Regions from separate parts of the Homo sapiens genome. Here all the other regions are linked to region 3. The links are contacts of gene promoters, found by promoter capture Hi-C in blood cells and fetal thymus (Javierre and others, 2016). All regions are on one chromosome and are shown on one strand. Each heading gives the region's core, a stretch centred on a gene start or on the middle of the fragment in contact. The rest is flanking DNA. Distances are from core to core; before and after follow the strand shown.

The links. The method cuts DNA at HindIII sites, captures the fragments that hold promoters and counts their contacts. A CHiCAGO score of 5 or more calls a contact.
Region 1: a contact is called between the fragment with the promoter of UBE2V2 here and the fragment with the promoter of PLAG1 in region 3, in 3 of 17 cell types (naive CD4 T cells, activated CD4 T cells and total B cells). The highest score is 8.5, in naive CD4 T cells.
Region 2: a fragment that was not itself captured here is called in contact with the fragment with the promoter of PLAG1 in region 3 in 5 of 17 cell types (total CD4 T cells, non-activated CD4 T cells, activated CD4 T cells and 2 more); the score reaches 15.9 in total CD4 T cells.
Region 4: a contact is called between a fragment that was not itself captured here and the fragment with the promoter of PLAG1 in region 3, in 7 of 17 cell types (naive CD4 T cells, total CD4 T cells, fetal thymus and 4 more). The highest score is 12.8, in naive CD4 T cells.
Region 5: a contact is called between a fragment that was not itself captured here and the fragment with the promoter of PLAG1 in region 3, in 1 of 17 cell types (naive CD8 T cells). The highest score is 9.9, in naive CD8 T cells.
Region 6: a contact is called between a fragment that was not itself captured here and the fragment with the promoter of PLAG1 in region 3, in 1 of 17 cell types (total CD4 T cells). The highest score is 6.1, in total CD4 T cells.
Region 7: a contact is called between a fragment that was not itself captured here and the fragment with the promoter of PLAG1 in region 3, in 2 of 17 cell types (activated CD4 T cells and total CD4 T cells). The highest score is 5.6, in activated CD4 T cells.

The regions. Positions count from the first base shown.
Region 1 is chr8:48,006,988-48,009,687 of GRCh38, reverse strand. It overlaps UBE2V2 (ubiquitin conjugating enzyme E2 V2), which reads right to left and starts at 1,257. Exons shown (of 4, transcript NM_003350.3): 1 at 1,218-1,257. The coding sequence starts at 1,233. RefSeq lists silencers at 862-1,061, 1,292-1,551. The HindIII fragment of the contact is 2,629 bases long and covers 480-2,700 here.
Region 2 is chr8:63,163,804-63,166,503 of GRCh38, reverse strand. No RefSeq gene overlaps it. Among named protein-coding and RNA genes, the nearest start is that of YTHDF3-DT, 3.3 kb to the left of the region's middle. The HindIII fragment of the contact is 1,193 bases long and covers 702-1,894 here.
Region 3 is chr8:56,209,855-56,212,554 of GRCh38, reverse strand. It overlaps PLAG1 (PLAG1 zinc finger), which reads left to right and starts at 1,282. Exons shown (of 5, transcript NM_002655.3): 1 at 1,282-1,434. It overlaps CHCHD7 (coiled-coil-helix-coiled-coil-helix domain containing 7), which reads right to left and starts at 766. Exons shown (of 4, transcript NM_001011671.3): 1 at 718-766. RefSeq lists an enhancer at 588-657 and silencers at 670-895, 738-1,297. The HindIII fragment of the contact is 9,849 bases long and covers 1-2,700 here.
Region 4 is chr8:61,706,835-61,709,534 of GRCh38, reverse strand. All of the region lies in intron 1 of ASPH (aspartate beta-hydroxylase), which reads left to right. Among named protein-coding and RNA genes, the nearest start is that of ASPH, 6.4 kb to the left of the region's middle. The HindIII fragment of the contact is 5,713 bases long and covers 1-2,700 here.
Region 5 is chr8:66,107,474-66,110,173 of GRCh38, reverse strand. No RefSeq gene overlaps it. Among named protein-coding and RNA genes, the nearest start is that of TRY-GTA5-1, 4.5 kb to the left of the region's middle. The HindIII fragment of the contact is 6,679 bases long and covers 1-2,700 here.
Region 6 is chr8:63,026,786-63,029,485 of GRCh38, reverse strand. It overlaps GGH (gamma-glutamyl hydrolase), which reads left to right. Exons shown (of 9, transcript NM_003878.3): 4 at 2,221-2,305. Among named protein-coding and RNA genes, the nearest start is that of GGH, 11 kb to the left of the region's middle. The HindIII fragment of the contact is 6,105 bases long and covers 1-2,700 here.
Region 7 is chr8:61,727,763-61,730,462 of GRCh38, reverse strand. No RefSeq gene overlaps it. Among named protein-coding and RNA genes, the nearest start is that of MIR4470, 14 kb to the right of the region's middle. The HindIII fragment of the contact is 1,164 bases long and covers 757-1,920 here.

The DNA.
Region 1 (2,700 bases), core at 8-2,507, 8.2 Mb after region 3:
AAGCCTTCCATTTCAGTACATATAGATTTGAAAATTCATTTTATTATGCAATGATGGCATAAACTATTAAATCACACTGCTCTATACTCTTGTTTCAACGAAGACTAGGAAAAGGCAGATCAGGCCGAGCGCGGTGGCTCACACCTGTAATTCCAGCACTCTGGGAGGCCGAAGTGGGCGGATCACCTGAGGTCAGGAGTTCGAGACCAGTCTGGCCAACATGACAAAACCCCGTCTCTACTAAAAATACAAAAATTAGCCGGGCCTGGTGGCACGCGCCTGTAATCCCAGCTACTTGGGAGGCTGAGGCAGGAGAATCACTTGAACCTGGGAGGTGGAGGTTGCAGTGAGCCGAGATCACACCACTGCATTCCAACTGGGCAACAGGGTGAGCCTCTGACTCAAAAAAAAAAAAAAAAAGAAAAGAAAAGAAAAAGGCAGATCACACGGGTTAACATTTTTAAATGTAAACTAAAGCTTAACGTTTTTAACATTTCTGAAATGGTCTAATGTCTAAAACCTCAACGTTAATACTTGTGTGCTCACAGGAAACCAAACATTGTATTCAGTAGGAAAGAGGAGTTGAACAGCTTATCTAAGAAACCACTTGTTCTTCAATTAGCTTTCATCTTGCTCTGGTCTTTTATTTTGTTTGCACTGCAGTTTTCCTCATAAATAATAAAAAGATCACACGTATTCAGTCAGGTAAGAAAGATCCTCTCGCTCTTATTTTAAGGAGCAATCGTCCTCTACTCCCCAACCCATGTCAAGGAGAGTCCAAAGGAATGGGACCCCTACTCTGATCCAGGACACCTCTTGGCCTGACCCATCTTCGGTGCCGGTTGGCCTGACCCATCTTCGGTGCCGGAGGTTGACACCCGCCCACCTTGGGCCTCCTCGCCTCCCTCCCGTAGAGCCTTCAGCCTACAACTCGGACCCGCGCCCGCCGGAACCTACGGGGGCGCCCGCGCGGGAGCCACCCCGCCCCCAGCCCGCCGGCGCGCGGCCGACGCGCGAGCACGACCCGCCAACCCGACGGCCGCCGGGGCCTCGGCGCCGGTCCCACCCGGTCCCAGGCTACGCTCTGCGGAGAGCGCGGCATTCGAGACAGCGCACTCGGGCTTCTCCCGCACGGTCAGCGCTCGGGCGCCAGCAGCAGACGGAGGGGCAGAGCCGGGTCGGAGCGGAAAATCACGCAGCCCGGCCCGGGAACCGACCTGTGGAGACCGCCATCTTCTCCTGCAGCCCGACGCAGCCGCCCGCACGCACGCACGAACCGTCGCGCGTCACTTCCGGGAGCGCGCCGCCCTGCACGCGTCACAGCGGACTCCGCCCCCGGCGGGCGCGGGGCGACCCGAGGGACAGCGCGCACGTGGGCCGAGGGGTCGCGGGGCCTCGCTGCTGTTTCCGCAATTCCCTTGTGAATCCCGCTCTCAAAATGAAACGCTAAAGAATAAGTTCATGAGGGCCGGGCGCGGTGGCTCACGTCTGTAATCCCAGCACTTTGGGAGGCCGAGGCGATCGGATCACCCGAGGTCAGGAGTTCGAAACCAGCCTGGCCAACATGGCGAAACCCCGTCTCTACTAAAAATACAAAAATTAGCCGGACGTGGTGGCGCGCGCCTGTAATCCCAGCTATTTGGGAGGCTGAGGCACGAGAATCGTTTGAACCGGGGAGGCGGAGGGGCAATGAGCCGCGATTGCGCCACTGCACTCCAGCCTGGACAACAGAGCGAGACTCCGCCTCAAAAAAATAAATAAAAATAAGTGGGCATTGACAGATTTGCGTTGATAAACGATTCAAAAGAGTTGGACAATAAATTTGAACAGCTAGGGATGCTGAGGTGGGAGGGTCACGTGAGCCCAAGAGGTGAGGCTGCAGTGAGCAGAAATCGCTGCACTCCAGCCTGGGCAACAGAGGGAGACTCCATTTCAAAAAAAAAAAAGAAAGAAAGAAAAAGGAAAGTAATACAGGCTGGGCGCCGAAGCTCACTTCTGTAATCCTAACACTTTGGGAGGCTGAGGCAGGAGGATGGCTTGAACCCAAGACTTTGAGACCAGCTTGGACAACATAGTGATACCTAGTCTCTACATAAAACTGAAAAAAAAAAAAAAAAAAGATTTTTCACATCCCTTGTAGGTTGTATTCCTAGGTATTTTTATTCTCTTTGTAGCAATTGTGAATGGGAGTTCACTCATGATTTGGCTCTCTGTTTGTCTGTTATTAGTGTATAGGAATGCTTGTGATTTTTGCACATTGATTTTGTATCCTGAGACTTTGCTGAAGTTGCTTGTCAGCTTAAGAAGATTTGGGGCTGAGACTATGGGGTTTTCTAAATATACAATCATGTCATCTGCAAACAGAGACAATTTGACTTCCTCTTTTCCTAATTGAATACCCTTTATTTCTTTCTCTTGCCTGATTGCCCTGGCCAGAACTTCCAATACTATGTTGAATAGGAGTGGTGAGAGAGGGCATCTTTGTCTTGTGCCGGCTTTCAAAGGGAATGCTTTTGGCCGGGCATGGATCCCAGCACTTTGGGAGGCGGAGGCGGGCGGATCACGAGGTCAGAAGATCAAGACCATCTTGGCTAACACAGTGAAACCCTGTCTCTACTAAAAAAAAAAAAATACAAAAAATTAGCCAGGCATGGTGGCAGGCCCCTGTAGTCCCAGCTACTCGGGAGGCTGAGGCAGGAG
Region 2 (2,700 bases), core at 49-2,548, 7.0 Mb before region 3:
GGAAGAAGCAAAAGTGGGAAACCCCGATAAACCTATCAGATCTCATGAGACTTAATTCACTATAATGAGATTAGCATGGGAAATACCGGTCCCCATGATTCAATTACCTCCCCCTGGGTCCCTCCCACAACACGTGGGAATTCTGGGAGATAAATTCAAGTTGAGATTTGGGTGAGGACATAGCCAAACTATATCATTCTGCCCTGGCCCCTCCAAATCTCATTTCTTACATTTCAAAACCAATCATGCCTTCCCAACAGTACCCCAAAGTCTTAACTCATTTCAGCATTAACCCAAAAGTCTACAGTCCAAAGTCTCATCTGAGACAAGGCAAGTCCCTTTCGCCTATGAGCCTGTAAAATAAAAAGCAAGCCAGCTACTTCGTAGATACAAAGGGGGTACAGATATTGGGTAAATACAGCCATTCCAAATGGGAGAAATTGGCCAAAACAAAGGGGTTACAGGGCCCATGCAAAGGGCACTCAAATTTTAAAGCTCCAAAATGATCCCCTTTGACTCCAGGTCTCACATCCATGTCATGATGATGCAAGAGATGGGTTCCCATGGTCTTGGGCAAGGAGAATGGAGAGGATATTTTGAAAAATGTTGCCACAGAGCCTAGTTTCTAGGTAAAAATGCACTCTTCTAAAGAGCCACTAGGGTGTGTCAGTCTCCTGGAGCACACAGCACAGTGCAAAGCTTGGAAAGGAGAGGGCAGGCTGGATTTAAGGCCCCATTTTTCCCTCAGCCAACTTTGGTGTTTGTGTGTGCGTGTGTTGTTGTTATTTGTTGTTTTGTTGTTTAATTATAGCAACATGTTCTTGCTATGTTGCCCAGGCTGGTCTCCAACTCCTGGGCTCAAGGGATCCTCCCACCTTGGCCTCCCAAAGTGCTGAAATTACAGACAGTGAAGTTCCAGTCTGCACAACTGTAACTTCTGTATGATTACTTGTATCAGTTCAAATTAGGTTCAGCTACAAGTGGTATCAAGTTCAAAATAACAGGAGCCGAAGATAGAAATCTGTTTTTCTCATACAACAGCAGTCTGGATATACTCCAGGACTTGGGTTGCCATTGTATCAGATAATCCAGGCTTCTTCTAGTCTGTTGTTCCACCATCCTGTTATAAATAAAGTTTTGTTGCCACAAAAGAAGTAGCACTCGAATATAGAATTTACTTTTTAATTCTCAGCAAGGCAAGTTACTTCTACAGAAGGGTGCACCCTTACAGATGGAACAACGGTGAGCACAGACTTAGACAAGGGAAGGGAAGGGGTTCTATCCCTGACGCATGTGGCCCCTTCTGCTGTGTTGTTCCCCTATTGGCTAGGGTTAGACCGCACAGGCTAAACTAATTCTGACTGGCTAACTTAAAGAGACTGACAGGGTGAGTGGTTTGGCGGGAAAAATGGTTATGACAGAGCAGGTAATTGGAATGAGTCAGGGTGGAGTAGGTAATCAGAATGAGTCAGGATGGAGCAGGTAATCGAAAAAGGTTGCTTTATGAGGAAGTTAAGTTTAAAAGTAAAAGGCAAAGAATTGAACATACTGACATATTGATTCTTTGAAAAGAAATTTAGAACTCATATCTAACAATCCTCATTATGATACCTCTACCTGTGGCCCATGATGGCTGCTCAACTTCCAGCCATCCTAATCACATTCCCACCAGCAGAAAAACAAGGTTAAGAAAGCACATTGTTCTCCTTTAAGGACATTTTGTAGAAATTGCATTTTTCCCATTTGTATTAGTCTGTTTTTGCATCGCTACAGAGGAATACCCGAGACTGGGAAATTTATAAAGAAAAGAGGTTTCATTGACTTACTGTTCTGCAGGCTATTCAGGAAGCATGGTCCAGCATCTGCTTGGCTTCTGATGAGGCCTCAGAAAGCTTGCAATCATGGCAGAAGGCAAAGGGGGAGCTAGCTTACACATGACGAGAATGGATGCAAGAGTGAGATGGGGGAGGTGACACACACTTTTAAACAACCAGATCTTCTGTGAACTCAGAGAAAGAACTCAATCATCACCAAGGGGATGGTGCTAAACCATTCATGAAGGATCTGCCCCAGTGATCCAAATGCCTCTCCACCCTCAACATTGGGGATTACTTTTTTTTTTTTTTTTTTTGAGATGGAGTCTTGCTCTGTCGCCCAGGCTGGAGTGCAGTGGCACGATCTCGGCTCACTGTAAGCTCCGCCTCCCAGGTTCACACCATTCTCCTGCCTCAGCCTCCCAAGTAGCTGGGACTACAGGATCCTGCCACCACGCCCAGCTAATTTTTCATATTTTTAGTAGAGACGGGGTTTCACCGTGTTAGCCAGGATGGTCTCGATCTCCTGACCTTGTGATCCGCCCGCCTCGGCCTCCCAAAGTGCTGGGATTACAGGCTTGAGCCACCGCACCCGGCTGGGGATTACATTTAATTGTGAAATTTGGAGGGGACAAACATCCAAACTATATTAACATTTCTGGCTACTTTCTACTAACTAAAACATAGTTTCCTACAAGTATTTAAAGTTAAGTGAAAGCTGGAAAATATATTCTGAGTGGCCATGTGTTCAGTTAAAAATGAGGATGTTTATTACTAAGGAAGAGGGGGAGAATGGGTGGGGGGATACTTAGTAATAAACTCTGTGCCTAGTAATTTCCTGGATTTGCTTTGTTAACTAGCAGCACTTAAACTTATCTTTGAATTT
Region 3 (2,700 bases), core at 33-2,532:
TAACTCTAAAATCCACTCCAAAGGGCAAACTGCTTAATAAAGCAGTTCCTGATTTCCCATCCAGTGGTTCACGTCCCCCCTCTCTAAGTAGCTTTGAAAGGGCAGGGGGAAGGAAACGTTTCTGAACACGTTCATGCCCACACGCCCCGTGGTCGGAGCCCAGGCAGGGTCCGCGGCTCTGCTAAACCCGGAAGCTGCACACGCCGTGCCGTTAACCCACTGCCAGGTGCAAAGTGGAAGGGGGCAAGAAGTCAAGGGTGGCCTGCCGGAGGTGGGCGCGCAGGGCAAGGAGAAACGAAGGGCGAACCCGAGGCCTCGCCGCCTTCCGCGGTGTAGCCCGTCAGCATCTGATCCTGGACGGCGCGCACAGGTGAACACACCTTGCTGTGCCGAGACCATGCCGAGAGAGACAAGGGGCGAGGAAAACGCAGGGAACTGGGGGTGGGGCCGGTAACTGCGCTTCAGAGGCTACACAGGAGAGTGGAAGAAGAGCTGGGGTTGCCCGGACTAGGCAGAGGTCATCTTCCTCGCCCCCGGAGCGAACAGACCCGTGTGGCGGGAGGAAGAGCAACGGGAAGAGGTCCGCGCTGCGGCGAAGCCTGGCGGGAGCGCCTCCGCGCCGCAGAAGTGCATTCGGGCCCCGCTACGGCCCAAGGGCACCCCTCTCTCCCCGCTTTTCTGCGGCCGCTTCGGAGGTAGGGCGGGGGAACCACTCACCTCCGGCCTCCGCTTCGCCAGCACCCAGGCCGTCTCCAGCTCCAAACACGTCAATGGCTCACGCAGCAGGACCTTAAGTAGCGCGCATCCCAACTTGCTGCCCCCGCTCCCCGGCGGCAGCCCGCCCAATCGGCGCGCGCCGCCGCCAGACTGACAGCCGCGCGGGGCCCTGGGCCGCAGGGGCGGTCGGGCCTCGCCCCGCCCCCGCCTGGCGAAAGGAGGGCCGAGGCGGGAGGAGTGGGCGGGGCGGTGAGCGCGACCCCGCCCCCTCTTCCCCCGCCCCACCGCGCCCCCCAGCCGCGGCCCGTCTCTTAACACTTCGGCTTGACGGGCGGCGTCGCGGCCCAATGGGCGGGCCAACTCCCGCCAGCGGCGGCTCCGAGTGGCCAGCTCTCGGGCGGAGCGCGCGCGGGGGGCGGGCGCAGCGGCGGGCGGGGTTTGGGGGCGGGCCGACGGGAGGCGGGGGCGGTGGCCGAACAGGCAGGGGGAGGCAGCGGTGGGCGCGACGTCGGCGGCGGCGGCGGCGGCGGCGGCGGCAGCTGCAAGTTGGGCTGCAGGGGCAGCGCATACACTACAATGGCTGCTGGAAAGAGGCGTAAGGAAACAATTTCCAGGCCCGCCGCGTCCAGCCCGAAATATGAGAAAAAAATTATTAGAAATTCCGCGGGCGGTGTAGAGGCGGCGGACGGGCCGGAGGGAGGATGTTAAAGCCCCGCGGTGAGTTCTCCGGGGGTCCGGGGCGGCGGCGAGGCGTTTAGCGGGAGAAATATCAGGGTTATTTAAATTATGGGACTAGCCGAGGGGGCAGAGGAGCAGCGGCGGCGGCAGGAGGAGGAAAAGTTTGTGCTACTCTCAGCCCCTGCTCAGGACCCCAGAGAGAAAAATAATAATAAAAAATAAAATAAAATAATTACGCGGGGCTGCGAGGACTCCCGAAGTCGCTTCTGACAGGGCAGGGGGCGATGCGGCTGGGGACCCGAAGGTGAGGTCGGTGGGAAAAAAAAAAAAACCTTTATTCAGGGTCTGGAAAGTTTGAAAAGTTTTCCTCCTCCTCCTCCTCCTCCTCCTCTCTGGTGCTGTGAATATTGTGACAGCGGCAGCGGCAGCAGCGAGAGCGGAAGACATTAGAGACCCGAAAAATAAGGGAAAAATTAATATAAATTCAGTTTTGAGAGTAAACTCTCCGCATTTTCCACCAAAACATCCCGGGGGAAGGTCGCTTCCCAAAGGGCCTGGCGGAAACCCGCAGTCGGCAATATTTGGGGGGCACTTTGAGTGACTTGGGGTAACTTTGCCCCTTTTTCAAAAGAGGTTTTTCTTTTCTGGAGAAATGAATTTGTTTTTGCCCTTTCCTCAGGTGGGCAAGCCGGGGTCGGGGTGCGGGGTCTGCAGGGAGGTGTGAGCCCGGGGTGTGTGGCTGCGAGGGGGGGTAGGGGGAGGGGGTGCTAAATGAAAGCAGGAGATCGGCACAGAGCAGGGACAGCTTGTTGTCAGTATCATAAACAACCAAAATGGAGGGAGAACTCAGGCATATAACCAAATAAAAATTTTTAAAAAATCGCAAAAAATCCCTAAAAATCCGGGATGCTCCCCCTTTTCTCGCTAAAGGTAAAAGTATGTACCGCCTTTCCCCTGAAGTCCATTTTGACTTTGCAGGGACCAAGGAGTTAATATTTATTTATTTTTTAAAACTTTCGAAGGGCAAAAGCCTTTTATAACTCAACCGACAATGAGAAAACGTGAAAATCCGATGCAAGAGAAGCAGGGGGAGCGAGGGGGGAGGTGGTAGTGCAGAAACTGCTAAACTTATTGGTAATGTGGACTGATCTCAGATAAGATAAACACTATATTTGCTATTTTATAACTCTCTTTTAATGATCTTTGCGGGGTTTTTTTGGGTGGAAAAAAAAGTGATGCCATTTTCTTAATAGAGTTAATATGTGTGATTGGAAGAATGAACCTTTCCGGCTTTAGATTGCATTT
Region 4 (2,700 bases), core at 28-2,527, 5.5 Mb before region 3:
GCAAGGGCTGCTTGCTTCATTATCTGCTGCCAGTGTCTGCTCTGCACTGCACATGTGGGTGTGATGAGTTTCTCTGGTTCGGTCCTGCAGCTCTGGCCATTTTTATTAGAGGACTAAGGATTCAGGATGTTCTTTTCTTCCCTGTGTACCACTGTGGGAGTATAGTCTGGAGGCCAGTGCTTTAACTTTTTTTTAATTATACTTTCTTCTGGTACTGCTGGGAGCCAAGATGGTATTTTCTTGTTAGTCATTATTTTTAAAATTTTAGTATTTTATTCCCCTGATGTGAGGGATGCTTCAGGCTTTTGTCCTGCATTTGATCTTTGTTTTTCAGGGATGTGTCTTGGTTACCTTTGGCTGATGTGGTTATCTTTTAACGGCAAATCACTGAATGTAATTCAGTTCCTATCAAATTGGCCACAGCTGAGGACAAATTTGGTTTAGATAACCTATTAGACTCAAAGGAAATGTTGAGCTCCCTTGGTGAATAACTCTTTTTAAAAAGAAAATCATCTTTTGAAGGATCTGGGCTATTCGGCCCCCTGTGAGATTCAGGTCACTTGCCTAGTCATGTGACTGTCATCATCTGCCGTAGATACTATGTGTGCTCCAGAGCGGAGAGCATTGGTGAATTGACTTGGTTGAGGGGTGGGGGGCTGGGGGGTGGGAGTGGTTGCTGTCCAGTTATAGTCAGGTTTCCAAGGGCAGCCACTATCTCTGTACTTGGAGAAATGCCAGCACTTCTCTCCTACATGTGTGCCCACACGTTGAACCCAGTGACTCATCCTGTACTTAAGACCCCAAGGATCAGTCTTAAATTTAAAGTAGGAGAATATCCTTTGATAATTTTATTTCACAACCAGCATTGTTGTAACTGCCTTTTCTCATATTTTACATAGGTTTGACAGCCATTTCTACCATTCCATAGTGCAGAGTCACTATTATTTTGTTGTTCTATCCTGTCTGTAACTTCTTTTTCTTATTTATTATTCTTCTAATATACAGTTTTTGTCCCTATCTTTCACAGGCTGCTTTCAATTTCAATTTTCTTGGTATACTGGAAAGACTCTTTTGGTCTTAGTTTCACTTGTAAATTTTATTTAGGACACTTAATTTTTTGACTTACATAAACCTCAAAATCTGTGTTGTAAATATTTGTTGAAAGAATATCTAGCATTTAACTACTTTTCCATTCTTTGAATCAAGTCAATTTGTATAAGATGCTTGTCACTGAGTTTTTGTAAGTTGTTTCATGGATTTGCTTTTTGGCAGAGAGCTAGTTCTCTAACCTTTATAATAAAAATATTTCTGTGTATTGCTCTTTAAAATTGTATGTATTTGAAATAGTACATATTTAAGCCTATAAATAATTGTAGAGAGTAATGCAGTGGATGCCCATGTACTGACCATATAGGCGAAGAAATGAAACATTATCAGATTCCTAGATTTTCCTCTCCTGTGGTATTCCTTCCTAACCATTGTTAAACATTTTATGGTAGTCATTATCATAAATACAGGTATATATGCACAAAATAATATATAACATGTAGCACATACACATTATGTATCCACACATGTAAACTGTATCTATTATTAAATCAATGTATTTGAAAACTGCCCAGGAAGTATATCTATATCCCTATGTGTAGAAATATACCTATACACACACACACATATATGTATATATACTGTATAGCACGTATTAAAAGTTTTGTGAACAGGCTTCTACTTGGCATACTATTTTGACAGCATTTGTTTGAAATTCCTCCAAACTCCAGTTCTTTATTTTCACATATGTAGTTCTACACCATATGAATATGCCTTGCTTTTCATTTAGCCATCCTATCGCAGGCCACTTTTTTTCTTTCAAATAATGCTGCCCTGTACATGTATGTGCCTATCTCTCCCCATGCATACATGTCTGAGTGTTTTTCTAGGGCATAATCTGGAATTGGAATTGTGGGTCATAGAAAGTACACACATTAGACTTTACTGGATATTGCCATTTTTTAACCCCCAAGTGGTTGTATCAACTTACAGTTCTGCCCCTAATGAATAAGAGCTTGTTCTGTGCCATCATCACATTGTCAACATTTGGTGAAGTTTAATATTTGCCAGTTGAGTGGCTGTGAAGTAGTACTTGAGGGTTTAAACTTGCATTTTTCTAATTACTAGTGAAGTTACTGGTAAGAGTAGCCTTGTGTTTCCTCCTTTGAATTGCCTGTTCGTATATCTTGCCTATTCTTCTGTTTTTGTTTTGTATTTGTAGTATTGATAGGTAGATTTTTTTTTTTTAATATCCTGAACCTTTTGATTATTTTTGATAAAGGACTTCTCCTAGTCTGTGTTTACTCACATTTTCATTTTTTATGGTATACGTTGTTGAACAGAATTTTAAGATTTTAATATATTAATAGAATTTTTCCATTTTGTACTTTGTGGTTCACACCTTTATACTTTTTGTAAGACACATAACACAGATGTTATGAATTATTCTTGTATTTTCCTCTAAAAGATCTGAAACGTTGCTTTTTTACATTTAGATCTCTGAACCACCTGGTGTAGCATTTTATTGTATATTTTGTTATTAGGGATCTAATTCAGTATTGTTTTTTAAAAAGGGCCAATGAGAATGTCCTGTACTGTTAGTTGATTTGTCATCTTTTTACCGTAGTCTGCAGCATCACCTCTTGTGTATGA
Region 5 (2,700 bases), core at 13-2,512, 9.9 Mb before region 3:
TTTGGGACCAGCCTGGGCAACAAAGCAAGACCCCCATCTCTACAAAAGATACGAAAATTAGCTAGACATGGTGGTGTTTACCTGTAGTCCCAGCTACTTGGGAGGCTGAGGCAGAAGGATCTCTTGAGCCCAGGAGTTCAAAGCTGCTGCGGGCTATGATTGATTGCACCATTGCACTCCAGCTCCTGGGACAGAGTGAGATCTGGTTATACACACACACACACACACACACACACACACACACACACACCAAAAAAAAGATAGAAAAGAAAAAAAAAAGAAAAGATAGATCCTGAAGACATAAAGAGTATCTAATATGAGCTCCAGAAAGAGAAAACAGAGACAATGCAGGGGTAAGAATAAAAGAAAGACATTGGTCATCAGATGGAAAGGATCATGCAAGTTAGGATGAATGAAAAATAACCATGCCTGGACACAGCCTAGTGACATTCAAAAGCATTGAGGATAAAGATGAAACCCTGTAACTTTCAGAGATGGAGGAAAACAAAGCAAAATCTAAACAAGAACTAGGCTAGCTACAAAGGAATAAGAATTGGATTATGATCAGACTTCTCATCATCATTACTGGATGCTAGAAGACAGTTGAGCATGGCCTTCAAAGCTCTGCAAAGAAATAATTTTAAGCCTAGAATTGTATGCCAATCAAAGTAGCAATCACATATGAGGACTAATAGTTCATAGTTGCAAGGTCTCATAAAGTTTAAATCTATGATTCCTCTCTGAAACAAATAAAAAGTAAGTAAACATTATTTGAGGATGTTGTACTGGATGGGTTCTCCAGTAAGCTGAAGCTCATGCAGAATTAGAGCACAACATTTTACAGGGGAGTAACATCTGTGAATGGAAAAGGGGAGGACACAGGATTGGGTAGGGGTAGTCATTAGACAGTGATGCAGACCCGACAAAGTTTCTGCCAACCCTCTTGGTGGCTCCAGAGCAAAGATTTCCTTTTGGAGGAGTCTCAAGTTGGGCAGAAATGGTGGGGCCCTAGCATCACCACCTTGCTCAGTCATTGGCCAGAGGCTTAGAACCTTGGCTAGAGGAGTTAACACCTGATGGCTACTAGTTAACCATCCTCCTTGCAGCTGGGCAGTGAGTTCTTTCTTGAAAGGCAGTCTAGCAGCATGTCTCTGTGTATGCCATGGATGTACTTCAGCAAAGCAAAGTAAGAATCCAAGAAGGAGGAGTACACAGGATTTAAGAAAAAAGGAAACCAACCCAGGGACTCAATGAAAAGAAAATCTCAGGTTGACAGTGATGCAGCTGGCAAAGAAAGCAATCAGGACAAATTAAGGGGAGGAAAAAAAAGTTAGAGGGCTCTGGGAAGTTTATTTTTCAAAAAGAAGCGGATTCTTTTACAATAGTAGTGTGATTAAGGATCTGGGAGACCTTAGAGATATGATAAAGGCACATGTCACTTTTCTCAAAAAGACAGAACGAAGATACTCAGGGATTTCTAAAAAAAACAAAAAAACAAAAAAAAACTTTATAAAAAATACGTGGTTCAAATATAAAGCAAACTGAAATATGGCACAATTTTGAGAAATTGATGGCATGCTTGTTGTTGGGCTGAATTGTGTTCTGTCTTCCCTCCCCACCCCAATTTATTTGTTGAAGACCTAACCCCTAGTACTTCAGAATGTGACTGTATTTGGAGATAAGGCCTTTAAAGAGGTAATTAAGCAAAAATGAGGTCATTAGGGTGCACCCTGATCCAATACAACTGGTGTCCTTATAAGGAGAACAGAATACAGAGACAGCAGGCACATGCATGCATAGAGAGAAGGCTACAGGAAGACGCAGGGAGAAGACGGCCATCTACAAGCCACGGAGAGAGGTCTCAGAAGAAACCAAACCTGCCAATACCTTGAGCTTAGACTTCTAGCCTCTAGAAGTGTGAGAAAACAAATTTATCTTTTTAAAAGCCACCCAGTCTGTGATATTTTGTTATGATAGCCCTAACAAACTATATGGGGATGGTGAAGAAATTTGCTTTTGTTTCTGCATTTTTTGACATCATTACATTTTTGTTTAACCATATGTAAGTTATTTTACATAACACGTATGGGTCAGAGTGTCCCATAATTGTCATCTAATTATAGATATTCTGTAATAAAAATTGCTTAAGAATGAAGAAACTGAGGCCCAAATATGTGAAATGACTTATCCAAGGTAACAGAGGGGAGAAGTGGCATATGAGATCTTAGGCCTCCTGAATCACAGCCAGGGCTTTCTGTAGCACTGCTTGGTCTCTCTGTCCTCAGATGGACACTTGGGTTAGGGATATTGGGCTGGCAGCTGCTACTCTGGGAGGAAGGAGGTTGAAAGGCAGGTTCTGATGCCAGTACGGTCAGAAAATGGACATTCTGGGAGTAGAAAAGCGTTTCATCTATTAAAGGTTATTCTCTTCTCACCTCTAAATCCAAAGGTGAAATCCCTTAAATTTGTTAACAGCAGTGCTCCAAGGAGGTGTGTCAAGACTCCGTGAAATGTGAAAAAAAAAAGCCATTGTTTATTTGAAAAATTATTCCTTAGACATATGTGCACTAAAGAGCTTTCAAGTTTTTCCTTTCAGTCAAGGAAACCATTCTACAGATCAGGAAGCTCTACCCAGAAAGATTAAACAATGTCTTTAGGATGACCATCCAGATTAGGGGAGCAAGGCTGTATTCAGGCTTA
Region 6 (2,700 bases), core at 28-2,527, 6.8 Mb before region 3:
TATGCATTGTATTAGTAGTATTGTCTGACAGTCACCCCGTAATCCATCAGGTGAGAATTGGTTAAATAAAACAGACTATGTACATTCAATAGAATACTATGCAGGAATTAAAAAATGCGGCTATCTGTAGATGCTGACTTAGATCACCATTGTCCTATGAACAATGTGATAGTGTTATGTGAAAAAGGCAAGGCACGTGATGGTGTGTATAGCATACACCCCGTTTGCTTTTTGTTAAAGGTGGGGGTGAAGAGATATGCATATTTCTACCAAATCAACACAGCAGATTTTAATGGCAGTTGTTTCTGATTGGGAATAGGGTGGAAGTATTTTACTGTAAAATGTTTTTTTAAAAGAGCTTTATTATTTTTACTTCTAAAACCATGTTAATTTATTGTTTCTTTTAAAAAGCTATGTTTAGAAAATTATTTGCCTTCAGTTCAGTTTGGTTCAGTAAATATTTACCATAAAATCAGTTCAATTTAGTAAAACATTTACAATGCCCAGTATGTGCTGTGTGCAAGGTACTTTGGCATGGACAAAGATCATTAAGTCTAGGCTAGAATATAATAGTAGAACCTCAAAAATAGACCTTTTGAAACACTTCATTTTCTTCCCACCCTCTCCCCAGTTGCATTCCTGTTTGGAGAGGAATCTGAATCAAGTAGCAGTGTAGACAGGAATACATACTTTGGGGAGCTAGCCTGTCCAGATGCTCAGTATGTCTTCATGCAAACCAGCAAAAGGAGTCCATTTTCTATCTTCCTCACTCGTTTTCTGCATTGCCACTAATTGTTGCTCCTGTAGGCCCCTTTTCTCTCTCATGTAGTCACTGAAAGCTGCACTCCAAAGTGGGTTAAATTAGGGGCCTTATTTATATCTCTGAGTGTCACCAGAAAATGAGCCGTATTCTAATGTGACTTCAAAAGCACCTTTATTGAGTCACTGTTATGCAGTGGACCCCATAGTATTTTGCAGGGGAATGCAGAGATGAAAAGACAGAGCCATGCTTTAAGGAGTTTGTCATATAGGAGGGACAGTCAGGTTTTGCTGCATGAAAGGAGTTTGGGGTTAGACATACCGTATTTGGTCATAGGCAGCTTTTTAAATACTAAGTTAATGTCTGTAAGCTGGAGACCTGGGATGCAAAACATAAAAATTAAAAAAAAATACTGAGTTAATGGAAAGAGAGAATGCTAATGAGTCTTCACTAAGCCACTTTTAATTGTTGGATTTTCTGCTTGGATTTGTGGTAGATATTCTCCCACACAGATGCTTATATGTTTTCTACCAGACTGTGATCTTCCTAACAGCAAAAGCCACTCATGTTTGTCTCTCCAGGCAAGTCGAGTCTAGCTCATGGAAGAAACAGAATATATTTCTTGAATAACAACAATCACACAAGTGATATTTCACATATCTCAAGCTCGTATTTAAATATTTTCAAAATTTTAATATGATTAATACCATTTTTCTTACCTCTTTTGAATATCCTTGGTTCTTTCAAGACCTTGCTATAAATTTTAAATTTAAAGTTTAATTTTAAAAGTTGATATAAAAACATGGTAAAATATTTTTCTATATTTCACCTTTATAAGTGTGTAAAATAATATCAAATATTTTTGACTGCCTTCTTTTCCTAGGCTTTTTCTAGAATCGTAATTATGTTTCTTGAAAAAAATGTTCTAATACTGTGCGTGTTTCTGAAGAGACTCGGGGTGATAAGAATTAAATTCTTGTAGAAATTTAATTCTAGCTTAAATATATTTTTATGACCAGCTTGTTCTTTATAGTTAAATTATTTGTGAGCTAAAACCTACCCATAATTATGGACCTGCAATTGATTTGGCATCACAGATCACCTTCATTTAAACCTGGCTATACCTGGAATTTTGTCTGTCTTTGATGTCTAGCTCTGTGTACTCTTGCCCCTCCCCTACTTATTTACTTTTAATTTTCCCACACTCTATTTCATTAAATAAATTTTTTGAAGAAGTTTTTGGAAAATATGCACTAAAGTGTTGTTAACTGCTGTAGTTTCTGAATGGGATTGTAAATATTTTATATTTTCTTTTTTCTTTACTTTTCTAATTTTCTTCAAGGATCTTATTGCATATGTAATAAGAAAAATTGTTTTAAAATAAAAAGATTGTTTTCTGTGTGTGTATGGGTCGGGGGTGGCAAAATACACCCTATTTGATTTATGTAACGTTGTTTCAGAATCCTTTTCCCTGGAGGAAGTGTTGACCTCAGACGCTCAGATTATGCTAAAGTGGCCAAAATATTTTATAACTTGTCCATACAGGTAAATATCAGTTATTGCTTATTATTCCAGATGGGTTTCTGTAAGTTTTTGTGCGAGTGGTTCATTTTTTAAGCAGATGGTAATGCTCCCTTCAAAATTACCCTTAGCCTCATCATACCTTTAATTTTGAGGTGCCTGTTCTTGGCTGCTCCCGCCTATTTTCCATGTGCTTCATCTAATCCTGGGCTTCCAGAGACCCTTCAGAGCACTGCTGACTGCCCCTCTCTTGATGCTTGTTAATGTGAACCGTGTCCTCATGTAGTGTAGACATTCTGATGTCTCTCTCTGTCCTATTTTTTTTTTATGGGCATTGTTTCTATGTTATTAATTCTCACCTCTTCTTGAAATCTGTTCTTCTTCCCAACTCATTCAATCCTATTGGAACTTTCTTCACA
Region 7 (2,700 bases), core at 89-2,588, 5.5 Mb before region 3:
TTGACTTTAATGGTTTTTTTTGAGATAAATATAGGACCTTTAGGAATCTTTCAAATTCACACATATCCCCATAGCCTACAAGATTTGACATAAAATGCAGCCAACTGGCCTCTTCCTTTTTAGTCCCTTAAAGATCTCTCCCTTGCTCAGTGAGCAATTTTGGTGGTAGTCAGAGCACTGTCTGGAAATGGGGTCTCAAATATCTTTTTCTTAAAGGACCACATGGTAAACCCCTTTGGGGTATGACTCTGTCCACAGATAAATTTGGCATTATACTCTAACTCATCTAAACCTTTTCATTTTTAGCTAAGGACTCCTTTAGGTATTTCACTTCCATCATTAGCATTAGCAGCTTCTTTTTTGGCCACTTTTCAAGAAGAAATAGAGCTTGGTTCACCTTATGAACATTTCTGAATGTGAGACAATGACTCAGGATAAGGAAGCTAAGTCGAGGCAAGGTTCGTAAGTTAGCTATGAGGTTCTCTCTCTGGCTATGTAGGCCTTTCAGGAATATCAGCTTGCTTATTCCTGGAATATTCAACTGTATTTATTAATAAAATTTGAATTTATTTTGAGTTACAAACCAGGGAGTCTCACAAATGGTTGAAACCATTAATTTTAAATCATGAATGTCAATGACCTACTATCTGAATTGATCATATGAAGTTTTTGCTAGTTCGTTTTCCATGCTTGAGCTTATTGATGAAATTATGCTGTCTGAAATGCCTCTTCTCTGCCCTATGGTAATTCAAAGCTTCCCTTACCTAATTCATGGATTTATTAAGCACCTCAATATGGTTACAAATATCTTAGAGAGGCCATGTGTTCAAACAGAAACAGACAGACTTTGGTTCAGATCCCATCTTCCATTTACAATCTGTGTGACTTCTGAAACGTTGCTCACCCTCTCTGAGCATGTTTCTCCATCTTTCAGTGGGGCTAGTGACACCTAGTGAGGTGTTTGAAAATAGCCCAGAGTAAGTGCCTATGGTGGTCATGGGAGTGCACCCCTCAGACTGCCTTTGAAGGGTGCTTGCCTCGAGAAGCTCAGTTGGCCAATGACCCTGGCTGCCACGCCTTCAGATTTGTCCTGGCATTTACACCAAAGGCCACTGCTCCCACCCTAAGTATGGTGGCAGTAACAGACCTCAGCCATTTCTGCCCAGTATAGGACAGAGCTCTAACGATCACACTTTGCCAGAGTTTCCCATTGGCCTAGTTGAGGTTTTCTGTGAGCTCCTCTGAACCATCTATGGCTCCTCCTATCCAGTCCTCTTTCCTTTTCTTTCTCCATTTACAAGAATCAGGCTGCATCACAGGCCAAATATTCCCTCCCCTACTCCTGCTCCCTGCCCTTTCAGCCTTCTCAGGTGTTTCTCTTAATATACCTCTTACATGTCTGATTCTGTCTTGTCATCTGCCTCTCTCGGATCCTAACTGACATGCTGCCTTTAATGAAGACCAGTAGGACCTTGGGCAGGGTCTGGTCTCTGGAGGTAGGGTTCTTCAGCATTCTAGCATTTCTTCTCATCAGGACATAGAGCACATGTCCTCCCTGCAAGGTGTCACTTGTAAGTAGCCAGTTCAACATTAAGCATGTTTGCCCATTGCTGTTCCCATAAGAGCTCTTGACCTTTGACCTCTGGACTACATCCCATCATCTTTCCAGTATGGATTTTCCTGTGCTTTTCAGAATTCTTAATCCCACCTTTGTGCAGGGTCCATCATCATCCCTCCCCACAGCCATTTCAGCTCCCTGAATTTTGCAAGCTCTTGGAAATACATTTACAGCTGACCTCAGGAACTGGGTCCTAAGTCCCCTATGTTAGCTCTCAGGAAAACAAGAGCTCAAGTGTGCAAGCCCCTGCAAAGTCTCCAAGTTTGGGTAAGAATCATCAGGATCATGTGAAGGGGAAAGCTTGTGCACTAGCACCAGACTGCCAGGGTGCAGATCCTGAAGCTGCCATTTATCAGATGCGTGGCCTTGACTATTAGATGTGTGACTTTGAACATTTTTGGTGCCTCAGTTTACTTGTTCATCAAATTTAGATAACAATCACATCTATTTCATAGGGGTGAGGTGAGGATTGTGACAATAAACTCATGTAAAGCAAGCACTAGCGCCAGACACATAATAAATGCTCATTGCTCATTAATGTCTATTATTTATTTATTTATTTGAGACAGGTTCTTGCTCTGTTGCTGAAGATGGAGTGCAGTGGTGCAATCTCAGTTCACTGCAGCCTCTACCTCCTAGGCTCAAGTGATTCTTCCACCTAAGCCTTCTAAGTAGCTAAGACTACAGGCGCACACCATGACACTTGGCTAATTTTTGTTTATTTTTTGTAGAGACAGCGTCTCACTGTGTTGCCCAGGCTGGTCTCAAACATCTGGGCTCAAGTGATCCTCCCATGTTGGCCTCCCAGAGTGCTGGTATTACAGGTGTGAGCCACCATGCCCGGTGTCATTAATATCTATTTCCATCTATTTATATACATATGTAGATAATAAAATAGAACGAGAGCTCAACTGCAAGCCCTTGGAATGAATTCCAACTGTACATATGTACATAAATAGATGGATAACTAATCATAAAAAGGTTTTTTTCAGTAATAAGTAAAAAATGCAAGGCTGGGCATGGTGGCTTACTCCTGTAATCCCAGCACTTTGGGAGGCTGAGGCAGGAAGATCACCAGAGAT